2 separate regions of the Homo sapiens genome follow, and region 1 is linked to region 2. Evidence: promoter capture Hi-C in 16 types of primary human blood cells and fetal thymus (Javierre and others, 2016). All regions are on one chromosome and are shown on one strand. The core of a region is centred on a gene start or on the middle of the fragment in contact, and the rest is flanking DNA. Distances in the headings are between cores, read along the strand shown. Region 1 has its middle 7.6 kb from the start of UBXN2B. Region 2 holds the start of TMEM68 (transmembrane protein 68).

What was found. Contacts are between HindIII fragments. The CHiCAGO score rates a contact against its expected background, and 5 or more counts as called.
Region 1: a fragment that was not itself captured here is called in contact with the fragment with the promoter of TMEM68 in region 2 in 1 of 17 cell types (non-activated CD4 T cells); the score reaches 5.7 in non-activated CD4 T cells.

Annotation. Positions count from the first base shown.
Region 1 is chr8:58,400,150-58,407,274 of GRCh38, forward strand. No RefSeq gene overlaps it. Among named protein-coding and RNA genes, the nearest start is that of UBXN2B, 7.6 kb to the right of the region's middle. The HindIII fragment of the contact is 3,704 bases long and covers 3,062-6,765 here.
Region 2 is chr8:55,770,501-55,777,291 of GRCh38, forward strand. It overlaps TMEM68 (transmembrane protein 68), which reads right to left and starts at 2,878. Exons shown (of 8, transcript NM_001286657.2): 1 at 2,769-2,878. It overlaps TGS1 (trimethylguanosine synthase 1), which reads left to right and starts at 2,946. Exons shown (of 13, transcript NM_024831.8): 1 at 2,946-3,219. The coding sequence starts at 3,119. RefSeq lists enhancers at 1,780-2,283, 3,055-3,384 and silencers at 2,505-2,634, 2,725-2,914. The HindIII fragment of the contact is 10,724 bases long and covers 1,426-6,791 here.

The DNA.
Region 1 (7,125 bases), core at 3,664-6,163, 2.6 Mb after region 2:
TGGGTGGGATGTGGAGACAGAAACGTGAGTTATGTTCTCAGGGTGTCACTTGGCATGGGTTCCAGGCTCTACTGAAATTGTTTTTCTACTCTACATACTACAGCTGTTGCTTTGTCTCCACTTTAACTTTTGCTCACATATGAAACTGAGTCCCTACATTTTTTATGATGTAATTTGGCTGTATTTAACTAGATAAAAATATCTTTGATGGCTGAAATGAAATACAACTGTATTTCTCTTTCACATAAGATTTGAAGCAGAACCATTCTTAGAGGGAAACTTACAGCCTTAAATGCATATAGGAGAAATGTAGAACGGCTGAAAAGTCAGTAAGTTAAGCATCTTTCTTAAGAAGTTAGAAAATACTAAATTAAATGCAAAGAACATAGAAGAAAGAAAAAAGCAAAAATTAATGAAACAAAAAGTAAACAAAAAAATGGAGAGAATAAACAAAGTCAAAAGTTGATTCCTTAAAAAGAAATAATATTTATATAATTCTGGCAAAGCTAATAAAGGGAAAAAGAAAGAAGACAGAATTAACCAAAATTGAGAATGAAAAAGGGATATATCATTATTGTTCTTACAGATAACATAAAGTCATAAGAGGATATTGTACCCATCTTATGAAAATAACACTTTCTAATATCCTAAAGCTGAATCCAATATTGTTGCAGAGGTAATCTCATATTCTAATAATTTTAAGATTTCCTATGTGCTACTTACAATTTTTTTAATGTAAAACTTATAAAAATATGTTTTAACTAATTCAGTTTGGCTTAAAAGCATCTACTATGAGGTCACAAACCATTTTTGCTCATTTGAGTATAAGCAATAAAACAAAATTACTATAGGAACTATTGTTGGAGGTTGTGTTTACAAAAGTTACTCATTCACCCATAAACAACAAAGACCATCTCAATTTCCCTGTTGCCAACCTATAGGTGACTGGCCAGAGTGCTATCTTAAGTATCTCCCAGCCTATAAGGAGCTTAATAATAAAGCTTAAATTATAAATAGAAGAGAATAATATGATGATTAATAGGCAATTTATGGGGATAAAATAATTTCAGTGGATTAAATTCTGATACAAGGAAACAGAATGTAGAGGTTTCATTACTAACCTAGAAAAGCATTTGAGTCGGCCGGGCGCGGTGGCTCACGCCTGTAATCCCAGCACTTTGGGAGGCCCAGGCGGGCGGATCACGAGGTCAGGAGATCGAGACCACGTTGAAACCCCGTCTCTACTAAAAATACAAAAAATTAGCCGGGCGCAGTGGCGGGCACCTGTAGTCCCAGCTACTCGGGAGGCTGAGGCAGGAGAATGGCGTGAACCCGGAAGGCGGAGCTTGCAGTGAGCGGAGATCGCGCCACAGCACTCCCGCCTGGGCGACAGAACGAGACTCCTTCTCAAAAAAAAAAAAAAAAAAAAAAGAAAAGCATTTGAGTCAGGGGTGGATAATAATGCAGACAGGCTTAACTATAAAAACAAGAGATACAATTTGAGATTTAAAGAGAATATTCACAGACCCAAAGATAGAAAATATTTTCCTGCATAATAATTCAGGAGTAAATCTGGCACAGTTCAACTGAAGCCCCGAATCCATGTGTCCCCCTCCATTCTCACTATCACTGATCTTGTTCATGGCCTCATAGCTTTTACCCAGAAGTTACCTCAGAATGTTCCACTGGCATCCACTGACTTTCAGTCACTTACTCCCCTACTCCATCTGACATACCAAGTGCAATTGCTAAAATAAGCAGATAATATTTTCCTTGCATCAAAAATATTTTTCACAATAATGTCTAGAAATAAAGACCAAACTCCTTAGCATTGCATTTATGACCCGTCTTGATCATTCCAAGGCCGTTTTCCACTGCATAGATCCTCCACTGAAGCCGAATCTTTTTACCATTCCCCAAACATGCTCCACACATTCTCCCCTTTGGAACTTTGCTGTTGTCCCCTGTGCCTAGAAGGCCCTTATGTCATCTTTGTCTATTGAAATCTCCCAATCCTTTAATGGTCAGTTCAGATGCCTCCCTCTCTGCTACCCTAATTCTCAATCAGAATTAATTTCTCCCTTTTCATATCTATAATCCTTTTCTTAATAGTACCAAATTTAACTTTAGATTTTTACAAGCATTATTTTTATACATTGAAATTAGGAGTGTGAGAACAAATGCTAGATTATTTAATTTTGAATCTCCCCACAGCACAGCACACAAAACACATTTATTTAGGTAGGTGATTAATAAAGATTGTTGCAGCTAAAATTTAGAAGTTTTCATACTTAAATGAAATTTCACACAGTAAACGTCTAATCAAATAGTACAGCCTGTCCTTCTGACTCAAGTATAAGTGCCCTACATACTCTTTCTGCCCAGGAGACTTGAGAGGAATAATTTCATTTAACCAGAAGGAGCCCATTCCTGCTTAGGCATCACAATTAGTGAACATGCTGCTGGTAAATTTCACCAGAATTTAGGCCTATTAATAACAACCTATATCCTGTGCATCTTGAAGTTGGAAATAGATAACCAAATGGATTTGAGAAAAAAAAGAAATTTATGTTTAAAATGTAAACTTAAATATAGTAAACATTGAAAATAAGCACACCCAACTAATTGCATTTGTATGTGTGTTATTTATTCAGAACATATTATCAAGCCTCTATTATAAGCCAACCATTGGAGATATGAGAGAATTAAACATAATCCTTGCTCTCTGAGAACTTCACAGTGTACAGACACCAGACAACAAAACGTACACTGAAAAAATGTCTCACAAAAACTGTGCGAAGTTCTGTAGTTACATAGGGAAGTTGCCTCAGGAAGGTGGTAAAGATTTGACAAAATATCACATTAGAATTCATGATCATGAAAGATGAATACATGCTTACTGGGTATAAAGAGGACGAGAAAGTTCCATGCAAAGGAAATGGTAATGAAGTGCAAAATGACATGGCATATTTGCAAATCCATCAGTGGCTTAGAACAGCTAAAGCACATGGGAAGGGAATGAGGTAAAGGTGGTAAAACAAAAAGTGTACAGACTAAGAAAAGCTTTATGTTCCATAACAAGGATTTGGCTTTTATTCTCCTCCAGTTGGTGGGGTTATGGTCAGAACAGCAACATGATAGTCTTTGTGCTTTTAAAAAATAGTTCTGAGAGCGATACAGAGGGCAGAATGAAAGCAGAGGCCCCAGCTGGGAGGCAGGGTGACAACCAAGGCAGAAGTCTGAAGATCGTGAACTGTGCCAGTGGAAGCAAGAGTGAAGAGGAGAATACAGATCGAAGAGATATTTTGGAGGAAAAATTGAAGATTTGGTAAACAACAAACTGTAAGGTTAAAGGCAAAAGAGGAATTTAAAATGACCCTGATTTCTAGCTGAAGCTAGATGCTGATCTAATAAATGATAGAATGAAAAAGAAGTGGGTTTGTACGACAAAAACAGAGGATTAGTTGGAGACACAAATGTTTTTGAGACATCCAAATGAAAATATCAGTTGAAAAGACAATTGGAAATGTAGATGTGGGGTAAGAGAGGGACCTGGGTATTGGAAAAAGAGATTTGGGAGTCTTAGATACAGTCCATTCTAGTTATTCGCAGATTCCATATTTGCATATTCACCTACTCACAAAATGTATTTGTGACCCCCAAACCAAATACATGCAGTGCTTTGTGATCAAACCCAGACACAAAGGAGCAAAATATTTCTGTTGCCCCATGAGCACATTCCCAGCTGAGCTCAAACAAGGTGACATTCTGCCTTTTTATTTCAGCTTTTATACTTTAAATAAGTGTCCTTGCACATTCTATTTAGTGCCATGTTTTTCACATGTTTGTGCTTTTTGTTGGTGATTTTGCTGTTTGAGATGGCCCCCAAGGGTAGTGCTGAAGTACTGTCTGGTGTTCCTAAGTACAAGAGGCTGTGATGTCCTTATGGAGAAAATGCATGTGCTAGATAAACTTCCTTCATGCAGGAGTTATAGTGCTGGTGGCTGTGAGTTCAATGTGAGTGGATCAATGATCATATTAAACATGGGGTCTTCAACAGAAATAGACATAAAACAAGGTTATGCATTGATCAGTTGATGAAAATGTAAGAAGTTCACAGGAACCTACCCTGTATTTTCCCTAGCAGCAATGATTCAGTATTCAATAACTCAGTGTTCTCAATGGCTTTAAGGAACATAACTACTGTAAATAATGAGAATTGACTGTGTGTAAATAGTAGGTATGAGAACAGAAGATATTGAACAGCGAAAGCATATACACAGTGAGCAAATAAGAGTGGCAAAGGCAGAGCCCTAAAGAACATCATTATTTAGAGGGTGGATAGAAGATAAAATGTTAGGAGAAGCTCAAAAGGAATGGTCAGGTAGGTAAGAAGACCAATGTTAAGCAGTATCATGAGGAAATTTCAGGAAAGGTAAAATCACAAGAGTCAGAGGCTGCAAAAAGCTCCCAGGAGACACGGAGATGGTATTTTTTAACCAAAAACACAAACAAAAAAAAAAACATATGCTTTTGAGTGTAATGGACCTGAATTTAAAATTTAGTTCTGCTACTTAATAGCTGAGTGACATAAGGAAATTCATCTTATTTCTCTGATCCTCAACTACTTCTGTAAGATGGAGACAATACCTATCCCAGAAAGTTGTTGTAGATTACATGAAATAATGTGCAATCCATGAAAATTACCAACTGTAAATATTCTATTTCTATTTTTAGAATGAGATAAAAATGTTTTAAAGGATGGAACAAGGCCATTATATATTACAGTGACCTCTGATCTTGTTCTCAGTGATGTCCAGCATATGTAAAATTACACAAACGTGAGTTTCATTTAGGTTGTGAAGTTGGAGCTGGATTTGGTTTAGAAGTGCAATATAAATAGGCCTGCATTTTATACTGTCTGTCCTGTCTGTATCTAATGAAGATATCTGTTGATAGATCTTCTTATTTCTTGACTTTCCATGAATGGAAAATGGGCTTTGGAGATAGTCAAATGTGGTTTGAGTTATGGATCTGATATGGTTTGGATCTGTGCCCCCACCCAAATCTCAGGTTGAAATGTAATCTCCTGTGCTAGAGGTGGGCCCTGGTGGGAGGTGATTGGATAACAGGGGCTGCTTCTAATGGTTTAGCACTATCCCCCCAGTGCTGTTCTTGTGATAGAGTTCTCACAAGATCTGTTTGTTTAAAAGTGTGTGGCACCTCCCCACACTTCCTCCTGCTCCAGACATGTAAGATGTACCTGCTTCTCTTCCCCTTTGCCTTCTGCCATGATTATAACTTTCCTGAGGCCTCTAGAAGCCAAGCAGAAGCTGTTCTGCTACCTCTATAGCCTGCAGAACAATGAGCCATTTAGCCCCTTTTCTTTATAAATTATCCAGTCTCGGATATTTCTTTATAGCAGCACAAGAACAGACCAATACAGGATCCCTACCACCTTCATTCACTCACTCATGCAAATAGTTATTAAAAGTACATATTATGGTTCCAGGTTCTGTGTTAAGGCACTAGAGATGAAGTCCTGGCCCACATACTCCATGAGCTTAGTCTAATGGAAGGAGAAAATAAGTATAATAAAATGTTTAACATTAAGTTTCCAGTTTAAGGACCCCATAATATATATGATAGGTCAAAATGGGTGTGAGAAAGATGCTCCTGGAGAATGTTTCAAAGACGATGAATGTCATGATTCTTGAACCTCCTCACCCACTTTGAGAACAGAAAATAGAGAATCAAGGAGAGTGAGGTATGTGGTCGTAGTTCTTTGAAGAAGAATGGGGAAAGATATCACTTTCATCACAAGCCAAAAGAAAGGAGACTTCAAGGCGACCACTTGAATGTTTGTTGATATTTTTGTTCACATTAACAAGATACACATAAGATGCAAGTGAAACACAAACACCCATAGTAACTCAACAACGTGAGCAACTTCTTCCGGAATCAGCTAGTAATTTTCAAATACTAGAGGAAAATTTACATTTTTTTTCTTTTGCTATTCACAGCATAACAGCTGCAGGCACAGCATACTTTTAAGTCTTATCTGCCTCGTAAACATTTTCTCCAACAGATCCTTAAATCTCCAGTGGGCAATCAACAAAACAAGAAATCGAACTTTTATTTATGGCGTTTACCAATTTCTGAGGTGGGAATACTTACACCATGGTAGATTTCAAGCTACTAACATGTTGTCACTGAATGCGAATTGGGAAGAGGTGTGCAATAGCATCTCCACCATATAGATCCAATAGATGTAAATCCCCTCAGGAGCATAGATAATAGCAAAATGTATTCAAATAACTAGGAAATTAGAGATTTGAATATTTATTGCATGAGTTTTTTGTATAATTTAGTTGTACATTTATATCATTTAATTTTTAATAATCCCTGTTTAACAACTGCCTTGCAAAATTCCTAAAAATTTAACAGTAGGCTCTCATAAGCCAGTGCACGGCAACTTCTGCACACCATTGACATTAAGTTCATTGAATATGTAGCCTTCACTATCCTATCTGTCACTCTGAAACTAGTAAAATATGGATTTTCCTCACTAACTATGAAATTGGTAGTAACTTTTGGGACAGCATCTCCTGTTCCTTTAGTCCAGTGGATACTTTTTAGTCTTAATCTTTCTTGATTATCTGTAGTAAATGACATCATTGGTATGCCTGTTGAAACTGCCTCATCACCAGTTTTTCCAGTCTCTTGTGTTCCTCTCACCTCTCTATTACTCAGGGCTACATTGAAAGCTTTCCTTTTTCCACTGAGTTCTTCAATGTTGGTGTTTGTGAGTGTTCTTAATCCTCGAATCTTCTCACATTTCACACTGCTCCTGCGAAGCCTTGTCTACTCTATCATTTACATGCAGTCAACACCCAAATCTGTATGTCCAAACCAAAATTCTTGCCTAATCTTCTAATCTTTATACCCACATTTGCAATTGCTCCATGATGCATTTTCACCAGAGTGTTCCACATACATTTTGAACTCAAAATGTCCATAACAAACTTGTTTATTTCCTTTGAAATTTGTTTCCCCCTTTCAACTCAATAATTTACGGGTAGCACCATTTGCCAAATCACCTAGCCAAATCCCCAGATGTCATTT
Region 2 (6,791 bases), core at 1,628-4,127:
ACCTTGTCTCTACCAAAAAAAGGTTCGCCAGGCATGGTGGCACGTTCCTGTAAGTTGCAGCTACTTGGAAGGCCAAGGCAGGAGGACTGCTTGAGCCCGTGGAGTGAAGACTGCAGTAAGCTATAATGATCACACCACTATACTCCAGCCTGGGCAACTGAGCAAGACCCTGTCTCGGGGGCAGGGGGGAACTCTATGTACTAGAAGATGTTTTGGGGGAAATACAATATTTTAGTTCTCAAAATTCCAGGTTATTTTCTACAGCCCCCTGCTCCTAAAAATCTAAAATAAACACAGTCTAATGCATCACATATAAAGTATCTTAATTTCCCTATCTGGAAATCACGTAACTTTTGTAAAAACAAGTAGACAAGGCCACGCGCGGTGGCTCATGCCTGTAATCCCAGCACTTTGCGAAGCAGCGGCAGGAGGATCACCTGAGGTCGGGAGTTCGAGACCAGCCTGACCAATGTGGAGAAACCCTGTTTCTACAAAAAATACAAAATTATCCAGGTGTGGTGGCGCATGCCTGTAAACCCAGCTACTCAGGAGGCTGAGGCAGAAAATCGCTTGAACCCAGGAGGCGGAAGTTGCGGTGAGCCAAGATCGCACCATTGCACTCCAGCCTAGGCAACAAAAATGAATCTCCGTCTCCAAAAAAAAAAAAAAGTTGACAAGCTCAAATATCACCATATTGACATTGATGGTGAGGATATGGACCTTACAGATGTTTAAAATCAGAGTATTTCAAAAACTAATAAATCAGAACAGAGAACTTTTTGGCTTTCAATAAAACCTTAAGAAAGTGTATCTATTTTAGGCTGGGCTCAGTGGCTCATGCCTATAATCCTAACACTTTGGGAGGCTGAGGCAGGCAAATCACTTGAACCCAAGAATTCAAGACCAGTCTGGGCAATATGGCAAAACCTTGTCTCTACAAAACACACACACACACACACACACACAAAATTAGGCAGGCATGGTGGCATGCCTGTAGCCCCAGCTACTCGGGGGGCTGAGGTAGGAGGATTGCTTGAGCCTGGGAGGTAGAGGTTGCTGTGAGCCGCGATCGCGCCACTACACTACAGCCTGGGTGACAGAGCAAGATCCTGTCTCAAAAAAAATAAATAAATAAATAAATAAAGTATATCTATTTTGAACACCCATTACCAGTACTTTTCCATTTTACTTTTAGTATATAAGTCACATTGAGAACATTCTGAAAATGCCAATTAAAAGATATAGTCACTGAAAAACAAGTTTTCCTGTTTCCTTTCTGCATATTTAATAATGGTTTAACAGAGATACAGCACTGTTTTACTGAATAGGACTTCTACTTCAAACCATGAATAAAGCTGCAATTTAGTATTTGTCAAGATAGCTGGTAAATCTAATCCTTTTAGCTTTAATACTTTTTTTATTTCAAGCTTTAAACTCGAGGTTCTGATACAAATTACCCTTCAAGACTTTTCTTTAATCCTAGAATGCCCAACTTCTAGCTAAAATCTTCCACTCTGTTTCATAATTACTGTTCTACCCTTATTATCGTAACCCAGCTACTCATCCCAATAATGCTGCACATCTATACTGGTATATCTGTAACCGTGCAGCACTCTTACCTTCTTGAACCAACAAAATCAGCCTATCTCCGACCTCAAAGTAGGGCAGCAGTAAGGAGGTGGGAATAAACATTTGAAAATGAATATTTCCACTAACTAGTAAATGTGGCCAAAATACTATTGAAAATACCATTCAAAATGCATGAATTTTAGCTCAGTTTTTATATAGTTCTGAAGAAGTACCAATACTATTTTGGCATTTCGTAGCACCAACCACGTCCGAAGCGCTCCAACTTTCAAGTCTGAGCTTGTCTCTGAAGAAGTTGCCCGTGCAGCCTCCATGAATACCACACACCAAATACTAACTGCTTTTTAACAGATCCAGCAACGCTGCTGTTTCCATTTTCTCCATCCTATTTATGCCCACATGAACTTTTTTCTTATTAGATAATTAGTAACTTGAAGGCAGAGACCTGTTTTACAGGCTGCAAACCCCAGGGACCGAGACAGCACTTAACGCCTACAAGGTCCAAACCGACGCCAACGATTAAGCGCACAAAGGAAAGGTGTAATATACATCATTTCGTTTAGTCCTCCCTGCAGCCTCATGTAGTAGTTACTATTAATCAACCCCATTTCACAGGTGATCAAAGGTAAGCTCAGAAAGGTGAAGTTGCCTGCCCAGGTCACAAGGTAGGACCAGGATTCCAAGCCTGATCGGTCTGGATACGAACGCTCTACCCACGCGGCTTTCCCCCTACACTCTCGGGATCACCACACACTTCCCCTTGGCTTTTACACCGGAGGCTCGACCTGGGTCCCGGAACCAGCGAAGCCACTGGGCAAGCCTAGAGGCCTCTACAGAGGCTAGAGACGCCTCGCCCCACCAGATGCATTAGGATGAAACGCGCCGAACCGAAGGTTTAGAGCGCCAGGGGAGAAGAGGGGCGGGGAGAGCAGGCTCTTTGACCCAGAGGAGGGAGGATCTCCACACCCGGCCACTCTGGCGCTGGGGCGCAACACTGAGGCCGGCGGGAAGCCGAGCCTGCCCGCGAAGAGACTGGGGATTCCGAGGCGGCTCCTGGGAGACCGGACGCGCGCGGCCTCCGCCGCTCCCAGTCCCGCCAGACCCGATGCCGGGCTGGAGAAGCGCGGGGGCCGACGCACCTCGGATAGGCGGGGGCAGGGGCAGGGGCAGCTCTCCTTTACCCTAGAGCGGCGACAGAAGCTCTTCGGGGGATCAGTGGCCAAGGGGGCGGACAGATTTGCACGGCGGATTCCTCCGAAGCAACCCGTGTGAAAGAAGCCAAGCGGCGGCTGCAGCCCGGGCCGCGATGGGGGTGACACCGCCCGTGGTCCCGCCCCTTCCCGTGGCCCCTCGGAGCCACTTCCGGCGGCAGCGTCCGGGCTAGTTCCCGGCGCGAGCGGCCGCGGGCCAGTTTCTATCTCCTCATCCAGGGCTTGCGGGCGAGGCCTGTTTTAAGTCTCCAGTAACCGAGCGGAGGCCCGGCAGGCGCGACCCGGGCTGCGTACGTCAGAGCTGCCTCCGAAGTGGTAAAATGTGCTGCGAGAAGTGGAGCCGCGTGGCGGAAATGTTTCTCTTCATTGAGGAGCGGGAGGATTGTAAGATACTGTGCCTTTGCTCCAGGGCATTTGTGGAGTAAGTAGAAAAGAGAATCTCTTCATGTTCTAGCACAGTCATTACCCAGAAATGTAGGTATTGCAAACGTGGTTGTAATTGATCCCTGAAAGCAGCCAGAACATCTGACCCTTGGGCACGGTGATGTTTAAGAAAAACAAAACCCTCAGACATGACGGAGTGGTCGCCCACTGCCATTATTTTTATGTGAAGGACTACATCTACTTGGTAGGCTGCTATGAAAAAATGTCGTAGGTGCTATATGTCATCTCATATTTGTAAATCGAGGGGACATTTAAAAATTGGGGGAAAGCGACATGTAAAATGAAATCTCTAGTAGATATGATGTCATAAAGTGAAAGTTTAAAGTTGAGTGACTTGCTTTGGTTAACGTCTTTTTTTAAACCTAAAAATCTACTTAAGCCCAAATGCACATAATTAAAACTTCAAACTAGTTGAGATAAAAGACTTAACCATATTTACATCAGTTTTTGTGATATCTTTATTTTGGGGAAATCTTTGAATCAGGTAAAAATTGCCCCACATGAAAAATAGCTAGTATGCAGGAATAATACCGCCAAGAGACTTGAATTCTAGGAATTGTTTCCTTTATATTAAATGCGTGAGTTAAACCACTTGAACCTTTTTTTCATCTCTATAACGGGTATATTTAATCTCACATGCTTATTTTGTTAGAGTTAAATCCTTGTGGAAGTGAATTTTATGTGATAGACTTTTAATATAGTTTAATATAGTAGGATTTAAGTTTGAAGGAATTCATTTTTCTCGTGTAATTTTGTGGAGTAATTTGAAAACGCAAAAAGAAGTTAAACTTGTTAAATTTAATGTAAAAAGTATTGTCGCCTTTTTAGTCAGGCATGCATGTAGTCATACAATCATTCAGAAAATGTTTTTTGTGCTCTTGTATATCAAGTATGCTGGTAGGCACTGAGGTACAAGACATTCTGTCCTTACATGTATTGAGTTTACTTCCTAGCAGAGAAGATCAATATTAAGATAACTGGTTACATTATTACTTGGTTGATTATAGTTATAAGTGCTATGAGAGAGAAGTGCAGGATGCTGTGAAAACAAATAACTTTCCAAGGGTCACAGAGGTTTCTTTGAGGAAGTAGCTTTTGGAAAGAGGTCTAAGGGGGATAAATTGGGGTGAGTTTCAGTGGGAGAAAGCGTTCTCTGCAGGCTGAACTCAGTAAAGGCCTTGAGGGAGCAAAAGAAAGCCTGGGAAACTGAACAAAATGGCTGGGAGGGAGGGCACGGTGGTGCACACCTGTAATCCCACCACTTTAGGAGGCCGAGGAGTGAGGATCACTTGAGCCCGGAAGTTGGAGACTAGCCTGGGCAACATAACAACACCTCATCTGTACTGAAATTTTTTTTTAAAATTAGCCAGCTGTGGTGGCACATGCTTGTAGTCCCAGCTACTCTGGAGGCTTGGGCCAGATGCTCTCTTGAGCCCAGGAGATCCAGGCTGCAGTTAGCCATTGTCGTGCCTGGATGACAGAGCAAGACTCTGTCCCGAAAAAAAAAAAGAAAAGAAAAGAAAGAAAAGAAAAAAAACTGGGAAAGAAAGAAGATAGGGTGTGCACAGTAGGCAGGGTCAAAACCCGCAGGACTTTGTAGACTATAGGAAAACCTTAAGCTGGGGAATGACATGATCAGATTTGCATATTTAAAATACTACTCAGGCGGCAGTGTGGAGGATTGTTTGGAGGAAGAGAACCACTTAAGACCATTGTTTAGGCAAGAGATTATAGTGACTTGGATTAGGATAAATGGCAGCAGAAATGGAGAAAGAAAGAAAGATGGGAGAAAACTTGCTGGGGGTGGGGACTGAATTGTATTGCTGCCTTTCACTGAGGTAGGGATCACTGGAGAATCATGAATTTTATTTTGGGTCAACGGAGAAGAGATTATGAGTTTGATTTTATACATTTTGATTTGGGGGTATCTATGAGATAACCAAGAGTAGATGGTATAAGCAGTTAGATATATTGATTTGGAGCGCTGGAGAAGTCTGGGCTAGTTTTAAAAACTTGAGCCATTTAGCCTTAGATAGTGATTGAACCCATGAATGAAGGGTGGGGGAGGGGGACCCACCTTTGAGGAATTCCAGCACTTTTTAAAGACAAGAAGAGATGGATTAACTAGGAAACAGACAAGCCTAAGTACACTGTCACCAAGTGTTTCAGTGAAGGTGTAATCAACATTGGAAAGCTGCCAAAATATCAAGCAAAATGAGGACTAAAAGTATCCACTAGAATTGACTAAATCCCTTGGATCGATTGACTGTAGCAGGAAGAACCGCAGACAAAACCCCTCAGACACCAGGTTAAAGAAGGAAGGGGTTTATTCGGCCAGGAGCATCGGCAAGACTCCTGTCTCAAGAGCCGAGCAACCCGAGCGAGCAATTCCTGTCCCTTTTAAGGGCTCACAACTCTAAGGGGGTCTGCATGAGAGGATCGTGATTGATTGAGCAAGCAAGGGGTACGTGACTGGGGGCTGCGTACACCACTAATTAGAAAGGAACCGAACTGGACAGGGGTCTTCACGGTGTCTTTTTTTTTTTTTTTTTTTTTGAGACAGAGTCTCGCTTTGTTGCCCAGGCCAGAGTGCAGTGGCGAGATCTCTGCTCACTGCAAGCTCCACCCCCTGGGTTCACGCCATTCTCCTGCCTCAGCCCACCAAGTAGCTGGGAATACAGGCGCCCGCCACAATGTCCAGCTAATTTTTTGTGTATTTAATAGAGACGGGGTTTCACTGTGTTAGCCAGGATGGTCTCTGTCTCCTGACCTCTGATCCACCCGCCTTGGCCTCCCAAAGTGCTGGGATTACAGGCGTGAGCCACTGTGCCCGGCCCAGTGCCTTTTTTATGCAAATAACCGATTAGGTCAGGGGTGGATCAGTAACTACCAGGCCCAGGGTGTGGCGCCGGGCTGTCTGCTTATGGATTTCATTTCTGCCTTTTAGTTTTTACTTCTTTCTTTGGAGGCAGAAATTGGGCATAAGACAATATGAGGGGTGGTCTCCTCCCTTAGATGACTTATTAAGTGCCACCACTAATTGTTCTACATTTTGTACTGACAGAGACTCTCCTTAACCAGACTTTACACAGGCTCTGAGTGAGCTCTCCTTTTGATTAGGCCTTGTCATTTGGGACTTGTCTTCAACCTGTCTGGTCCAGTTTTAACAAGAATCCTTCTAAGTCCATTAGTTTTTTTGTTTGTTGGTTTTTTTTTGGTGGTGGCGGGGTGGTTCTTGGGTGTTTTTTTTGTTTTGTTTTTTGGGTTTTGGGAGGTTTATTTTGAGACTGGGTCTCACTTTGTCACCCAGGCTGGAGTGCAATGGTACAATCACAGCTCACTGCAGCCTCAACTTCCCTGGCTCAAGCAATCCTCCTACCTTAGCCTCCTGAATAGCTGGGACCACAGCTATGCACCACCATACCTGCCTGATTTTTTTATTTTTTGTAGAGACAGGGATCTCACCTTGTTGCCCACACTGGTCTGGAATGCCTGGGTACAAACAGTTTTCCCACCTCAGCCTCCCAAAGTGCTGGGATTACAGGTGTT